Regions from separate parts of the Homo sapiens genome. Here regions 1 and 2 are each linked to region 3. The links are contacts of gene promoters, found by promoter capture Hi-C in blood cells and fetal thymus (Javierre and others, 2016). All regions are on one chromosome and are shown on one strand. Each heading gives the region's core, a stretch centred on a gene start or on the middle of the fragment in contact. The rest is flanking DNA. Distances are from core to core; before and after follow the strand shown.

Region 1 (2,700 bases), core at 114-2,613, 270 kb after region 3:
GATGGACTCATTAGGGTTATTTTAATTTTCATCATACTTTTGTGCATTTAACTTTTTAAAAAGAGTCTATGTAACTTTCATAATTGAAAAAGAAATGTCTGTTCTGTTTTAGGGATGATAAAAGTCCCTTTGTTGAGATTACAAATAGGAAGGTATTTTTCTGTTTACAGAGTACTTTCATAGGCATTAACTCATCTGAGCCATTCAACAACTCAGAGAAAGGGGTTTGATGATGATCTCCAGAGACAGACAGCAGAGCGGTGAAGCTCATAACTCGAAATGTGACACAGGCAGACCTGGCTCAAGGCTTCCTGGTGCCCTACTGTCTTCTTTACAATGTCCATCCATTTTTCTCAAGAAAGGAGTTTTGTCTTAGTTTGCTTTCTAAAAGGGTTCCAAAACTGTTTTACTTCCCTCTCATCCCAAGGTCCAACATCCTATTTTTTTAAAAACAAGAACCAAGAATCAAAAAACAGATAGCCCACCCCAGATGCCTCACCTCACAGTGGGACGGGGAGACTATTCAAGAACTTTAAAATTCACTGTTGCTATTTTCGCATATTCATACAGCCAATTATCCTAACGGGACTTGTCCAACCTATTAAGGGGATATCCAGGCACAATTTTAAAAAAAGACACAGTCTGACCTAGAAAGGGAATCAGAGACGAAGATTCAAAAGCTGCTTAAGACGACGTAATGCTGAGGGAGAATTATAGTCAGCATCGAAGAAGCAACACAGCTCAAATGTGCCTGGTCTTGGAATGACTCACCGGTATTGCTGTGACGCTTTCCTGTCCCATTGATCAGACAGGTTTTTCCATTAGAATTTACTGACGACGTGCTCCCCAGTAAGTTGGTAAGATCAATTCTGTAGTTTTAAAATAAGGAAGATATGACTGAAATGTTAGAACACAGTCTCCACGCAGCACACACAAAAAAGCCCAGGGAGAGTCCGAGGCTGTGTGAAGGAAAAGTGGCCTCCCTTCTAGCTCAGCCCATGAGCAAGTTCACCCGTCTGTCTGCTCTGGGTTTTTTGATAAAGAGTTAACTGATTCTGATACAATCTGCTGCCTTATTAAGATGTAAGACACATAAGTTAGAGAGAGAGTGTGTGTATATGGGAAAAGTCTGGGCCTGCTTAGGGCCTGGGGCAAGAGTAGAAGCTAGGTCTTCATAAAAAGGCTGAAGCCTATAGAATAAGATGGAGCCTCATGACTGGCCTCATGGGGCTAAGCTTCCCTCTGCTCATGCAAACTTCTAGAACAGAACCCATCCCACACTGGGCAGAATAAATACTCATGATGGGAATGGGCCTGGGGTAGAAAGAAACAGATGGTCAGGACGCTGAGCTTTTGTTCCTTTATAGGATTGTTCAGCTTCCTCTCCAGCTGAGACCACACCCTTTTTGTGACCTTCTCACTCTTTTCATGCCCTGAGTGTGTCTTTTTCATCCTCATACCGATGGATTAAATGTCTTTTCAGAAAGCTTTCACTTTATGCACTGCAGGCCATAAGTAAATTGATACCCGTAAAGTTTGAGAAGGGGTACTCATGAGAAGCGCCTCACGAGAAGTGTGTGCCCTAGTCCAGACCCAAACATTTAGGGAGATGAGCTGAATTCTGGTAAAACCTCCCTAAGTGAGTCTTATCCACAGACTTAGGTGAGAACAATTGCTGTGTGGAGCAATCACCAACAATGGTATTTAAGAGAAGCAAAGGTAAAATAAGCAATGGGGTAGCCAGGCTAGTGCCCCCAGGAGGATCAGTGGCCAGTAGCCTGTGCTCATGGTGGACAAAGGGAGGGGGCCCAGAGAGTGACCAGGATAACAGAACGGCATCCATTCTGGACAAGGAAACAGAAAGCTGTTCCCAAGAAAAGAGAAGTGTGATCTGTCGAGGATTTCCAGAGAAGAGGATCCTATTAGGATCGTATCAGGAGCTCATTGGGCTTGCTACCACAATTGGGAAATTTGGGCAGGATTTGGGTTTGGAGAGATAGGTTTGCAAAGGATGTTCATTTCAGGAAGGCTATCAACCAATCTATACAATATATTCAGTTTATTAACTTGGAAAAAAGATAACAGTAGGTAAAAGTAGATGAGCACATTCTCTGTAAATTACTTTAATTATTGTTGAAACAATGATAGGCTCTGAAGAAACTTCCCATTGGAGAAAATTTGTCATAGGCTCCCAATTCAAAGATACATAATCCATCATGGCTACTACATTTCTATGACATATGTCTTTTGCCAAAATGAAGTAGTGAGCTCAACTAAGTACCTCTACCTGATCCCTTTGAATGTCAAAACCAAGTCCAATTCAGTTGTCTCATCAGTCTCTAGAAACATATCCTTATTGTTTCACTTCAATATGAAATGCTCAATATGAAATTAAGGATTAAGCTGGGTAATGAAACCTAGCCCCAGTGTCCTTTGATAATGACTTTTGTATTAATAGTTTCTTCATATATAAAATGGAAGGGGAAAGAAAAGATTTTAGTTAATAACCAAGATAGCTGTTCAGCTTGAATCACTATATAAACTACTGACTCACATTTTAAAACCTGATAGGCAATCTTTTGTTTTCTTTAAGCAACATATAGTCTCTCATTTGTACCATCAATCTATTCAATTCCTGATTTCCAAGAATCTTTTCTGCTTTATTCACAATTCCAAAAATAGAATTTATCTACTTGATTA
Region 2 (2,700 bases), core at 99-2,598, 390 kb before region 3:
GGGACTGAACTAAACTGAATGGGACCTTGTAAGAAAGAAGAACAGATTCTAGAATTTATATTTGACTTTGGTTTCTCTTAGGCCAAAGCTGTTTCAGTGATAATAAGGCAGCATGAGGGCTGTGCATGGATTCTGTGGCCAGAATGTCTAGGTTCAAACCTCAGCTCCACCACTCACAACTTCTGTGATGTTGGATAAGTTACTCAACATTCCTGTGCCTCCCTGAGTAAAGCAACAATAATGATAGTACCTGCCTCATAGAATTGCTATAAGGAATCCATTCAATGAATTAATTGTTATAAATCCCTTGGAATAATGCCTAGCACATAAAACATACAATATAACTTTTTTAATAAAATAATTTTTAAAAATCACTACTTTGAATTGCATTGCATTTTACATGTGGCAACTCATATTTCATCCGTATAAGAAGAATGATTTTCATTTATCCAATAAGAAAACTGAGGCTCATAAAAACAAATGCAGAATAAGAACTCGAGCAGGACATACACTGTTGTAGAAGTTGAGCCCAGTTCTGTCTTATTTAAGGCATGCTTTCAGTTCAGTAGGCACCCTTTCCTTATGATATCTCTGGCCATTTTAACAGGTAGTTCTGACTATAGTGTATGCTATTGGTCACCTGATAGACAAGAGTTATGTAAAGTCACAGTATCCTCAGTATTATCGGAATAAGCTTTCTCTTACCCGGTGCTCACGAAAGCAAAGGATTTTAGTCTGGGTAAAGATGAAAGATCTATGACATAGTGTGACAGAAAAAGCCCCAGTAAGGAAGTTGAAAAAAGTGAATTCTGGCCCTGGCTCAACCACTGGCTTCTGTGATATCAATAACTAACATGTACTGAGAGCTTACTCTGTGCCATCTACTGCATTTATATCATTTAAACCTCACCACAAAACTCAGGCACAGATACTTTTATTATGCCACTTTTCAGGTAAGGAAACTGAGGTTTAGCAAAGACAAGTAACTTATTCAAGATCAAATTGCTTTTAAGTGGTATAATTCATCTTAATGATCTCAAAGGTACTTTCCAACCCAGTCCACCTATAATTGAGTGAGCTCTTGCCTAATCCTCACTCCTCTAGAGGGGTGATCCTGTGGTTCTAGCCAACTTTAAGTCAAATCCCAGGCACCTCAAGGCCTCCCAGGATGCCAGTGTTGAAAAACTGGTGAATTATTGCATAATGTGGGGTTTTACAATCATCGAAAGAATAAAACAGAAAAGAAAAATTAGCAAAAGGTAAAGCCTTAAATCTTTCCCCGTTCATACATTTCATACCTTTATTTACAAAGTTGGTAATTGTGAAGTTCATTCCATTTTGTATTTTTCTTTCTTCACTTAAAATACTATCATGAACAATTTTCCTTATTGATAATAGTTATATTTTAGAATTACAGAATTTGACTATGAAATTTTCAAGGTTCATTTCTAATTCCAAAAACAAAGTCTGGCCTGTTCTTATTTTTTTGGACTTTTTTCCTTCATTCCAACAGAGTCATTGTAATTACTACATGAGTGACGAGCAATAACCACCAAATGATACTTGGCCAAAATATCACAATAAAATGATTACCTTGTTGCTAAATATTTAAGTTGCTTCTAGTGTATTTGGCTAAAATATCACAATAAAATGATTACCTTGTTGCTAAATATTTAAGTTGCTTCTAGTGTATTTGCTATTACACATAATGCTGCAATGAACATCTTTGCACAGCATATTATTTCTATAACATGCATTCCCCAGAAGACAAGGCTACAACGAGTGTGTCCATGTTTATGGCTTTTACATTTTGAAAAAGCAAGATGTAATATTGATAGTGTCCACATATGGCCCTACACTGTTCAAATCTTAAGACATCAAACATTGGATCTTGTTCTAGATCCTGAGTGACTATTACTGAATTGCTAAAGTGAACAAACATTAATTTAACAGAGGGTTTGAAAGCTGAATTCTTGGGGCCTAGTTCAGAGACAAAGCTTACTTACTGTCAAGGGGAAAAGGATCTGCGGAAAGTGCCTGCAAAAAGGAGACTTATGGAAATAAAAACGGATCTTACAGGAATTGTTGAAAGACCAAATCCTCAGGAGATTAGCACTCAGGAGATATTAAGTAAACCAGTTTTCCTGGATCTCACTCTGATATCTGAATCTTAATACTAAAGAAATACTTTCACCTATTACAGTTCAGTGTCAGCTAATCAGAAATTTTGGCTAAAGCTAGGAATCATATAAATACATATATTTTAACTTAAGACTTTCACTTGCCAGTAGGTAGAGCCAAGGCCTCTCTTTAAGTGCACATTTTCCATTTGTGAAGCTCCATCTCATTTTTCTTGAATAAATCACTCCCATCATGCATCCTCTATTAGTTGAAGTTTCAGGTATTTTTGTTTTTGTTTTCTTTTCTTTTGTTCTTTGTAGCAGATAAAAACCTTAGAAACTTGCACAATTATTCTGGATTTTAATCTTTGTGTTATTCTTCTACAGTTATCTCATCCACAAACTAATTTTAGATCATTTTTTCAGCAATTCTTCCCTCTTGAGCCTTTCCAAAGCAATCAATTTAATTTTTATGGACACAGTCTCTTTATTTTTATACTTATATTTCATCTATTTGCATAATATTTAAATTATATAATTGCATTTACTAATAAAAGTAGCATAAACGGGTTTGAGGAAA
Region 3 (2,700 bases), core at 85-2,584:
ATACAAACTGACTACCACTAAAGTAGATTTGAGGTTATCTAGGGTTAGAGTGAGAATGGGAAGCAAATGAGCATGGACTTTTTAAATGTTCTAAAATTAAATTGAGGTAATGATTGCATGACTCTGTAAATAAATTACAAATCACTGAATTGTAAAAAAGCAAAATAAAAACTTTTTGCCAAATATCCCTCTTCACTAACACAGGGACTGTTAGTATTTTCAGTTGTGCCTTTAGTGGCCAATTCATACATTTAGGCTTTGGAGCCAGATGGCCGAGGCTGAAACATGACCTCTGCCACTTAGTGCCTCGATGAGTTACATACAACCTTCTGGGCCACAATTTCCTCTGCTGAAAAATGGGAGAAATGACAGGCTACATCATTGGATTACTAAGAAAAATAAGTGAATTGATTTGTGGAAGTGATACAGTAACTTCTCAATAAATGTTTAGTTACCAATCCATATCTTTTATTTAATTATAATTTTTAATATCAGAAATAATTGGCTATTGCTGCAAAGGGTTAATCTGATGGGGAATTCTACATAAAATTCTTTGTAGATAAGCACTATCCTACACAATACAGATGACATACTTCTAATTTTCATTCACAATCCAGGGCCCCTCCAATTCAAGTATATTCAGATTATCTTTCTAAAGCATGCTTCTCATTTTTTCCTCAAACTTTCAATGCTCCTGTCTTCCCCCCAGACTCCTGTCCCTAGTGCCTGCAACTGCCTACAAGGACAAGGTACAGAACATATAAAGTCATTGCATTGCACCGAATCCAATTGTAAGCGGCTCTCCGAACCCTCACCAATTTATTATTATTATTATTATTATTTGGCTGTTTTCTTTCTCTGTGCCACTTACTCCATTTTCCAGATACTTCAAATTCCTCACTCAGCCAAAAACACCATTCTTTCACGCAAATCTTCCTTTCACAATTGCAATTTCTTCTGCCTAGACTGTGGTCAGCCTTGAAAAACTCCTGTACATCCTTTGTGACCCAACTCGAATGTCACATCCTCTAGCTGACCTCAATCTTCATTGTGACCTCATAATAAGACATATACACCCCTACTGAAGCGTAAGTTCCCCCTCTCCACCCTTCAGGCCCTGCAGCCACTGTCTGCCCACACAGTCCCAAATGTTATCACAATACTAAGCTATTGTGCATTATATGTGATTCACCTCAGAGCCACAGCATATTTTCTTTTCTCTTCCAGAAAAACTTCTTCCTCTCTACTTTCCCCAAGCCACTCACCTCGCAAACTCCTACAAGTTTGTCAGACCTCAGTTTAGTTCAGATCGGATGCATTCAGGGTGTTATGGCAGGAGACAGACATGATCATAGGAAACTTCCTCAGATCTTCCAAGACTAGGTTTGCTTTGTCCCTGAATATGCTTCCAGAGTACCCTCTGCTGACCCTGAGTACTGGTCTATAGCACCAAATGGAAGACTGTCTGTCGATACACATTTTGTGACAGGCTCAGTTTTGTATAACTATTGTCAATCTCCATAACCCTAGCACATAGGAAGTCTCTGGCACATATCAGATGCTCAATATCGGTTGAGTGAATGTATTAATCATCTCCTTTAAAACCAGAGTCAGTGGATTGAAGGGTAAGTATATTATATCTCAAAAAGCTATTATTTAAAAATAAATCTGAATTACCAGTCTATCTTTCTCATTGTAGTTTTACCTCTCAGTTGCTGGACAGAGGTCTTACATGCTTGCATCCCTATCGTGGAGCCTGAAACCTACAAGTTGCTCAATAATGTTTACTGAAATTTCATAAAAATAAAATATTATGCCAGATTCTCAGCCACTGAACTACTTTCTACAAATGACCAATTTATATGAAGCTCCTCAGTAGGTAAATTGATAGTGATATCACAAATCAAGCAGCTGGAAGATTCACTGCTTTCAACATTCACATTTCACAACTAACAATTGGGTCCAGTAAGTGAATTACCCGAGATCGTGCAAATAGGATCACAAAGAATGCCTTCTCCCTAATCAATATCATTAGTGGTATCTAACTTAGAAAGACTGTTGTAATCACAGTAGTCAGATTTAGTGTTATGAGTATGGACTCTGCCAGCAACAAATCACCAAATACAGGTGATGAAAGCTATAGCTAGAAATAAATAGATCACTAGTGGGTTTTTGAAAACATGATCAGATTAAACAGGTGTTGATATGCATGAGAAGAGGAATAAACTCTTGGTTTGATGTAAGTCATTATTTGGCAGTTGTGTAATATCTGATAATCCTTCTAGGCTCTATTTACTCAAAGACCAGGAACTATAAGTATATCTGCTTCATAGGACAGAAGCCAGTGAAATTGGAGACAAATATTTTACATACCACAAATATGGTATTCAGGCAATGATGATAACAGCATCATTCTATAAGACCAACTGTATGACAGGCTTTGTTTTAAGCACTTTAGACACACTTTACACACGGCTTTGACTATAAACTGCATCTTTTTTTTTCCCTACTAACCTACTAACAAAGAACCAACAGGTGTCACTTAATATGTGTTACAATGGTTTCTTACCACATCAATCATAGGATGTGTTTCAATTTTCAAGAAATTAAACTGTGAGAAAGATATTTTATAGGATACAAGTAATAGAGTATAATACATTTAATAGTCCTAACAATCCTATGAGATGGGTCCTATTATCA

The links. Contacts are between HindIII fragments. The CHiCAGO score rates a contact against its expected background, and 5 or more counts as called.
Region 1: a contact is called between a fragment that was not itself captured here and the fragment with the promoter of LPP-AS1 in region 3, in 1 of 17 cell types (naive B cells). The highest score is 6.0, in naive B cells.
Region 2: a contact is called between a fragment that was not itself captured here and the fragment with the promoter of LPP-AS1 in region 3, in 1 of 17 cell types (M2 macrophages). The highest score is 5.1, in M2 macrophages.

Annotation. Positions count from the first base shown.
Region 1 is chr3:188,297,426-188,300,125 of GRCh38, reverse strand. The region is part of intron 2 of LPP (LIM domain containing preferred translocation partner in lipoma); the gene reads right to left. Among named protein-coding and RNA genes, the nearest start is that of FLJ42393, 120 kb to the right of the region's middle. The HindIII fragment of the contact is 252 bases long and covers 1,238-1,489 here.
Region 2 is chr3:188,957,591-188,960,290 of GRCh38, reverse strand. No RefSeq gene overlaps it. Among named protein-coding and RNA genes, the nearest start is that of TPRG1-AS1, 11 kb to the right of the region's middle. RefSeq lists an enhancer at 2,607-2,700. The HindIII fragment of the contact is 1,303 bases long and covers 697-1,999 here.
Region 3 is chr3:188,567,300-188,569,999 of GRCh38, reverse strand. LPP-AS1 (LPP antisense RNA 1) reads left to right here and starts at 1,334. Exons shown (of 2, transcript NR_046623.1): 1 at 1,334-1,625. All of the region lies in intron 6 of LPP (LIM domain containing preferred translocation partner in lipoma), which reads right to left. The HindIII fragment of the contact is 3,783 bases long and covers 1-2,700 here.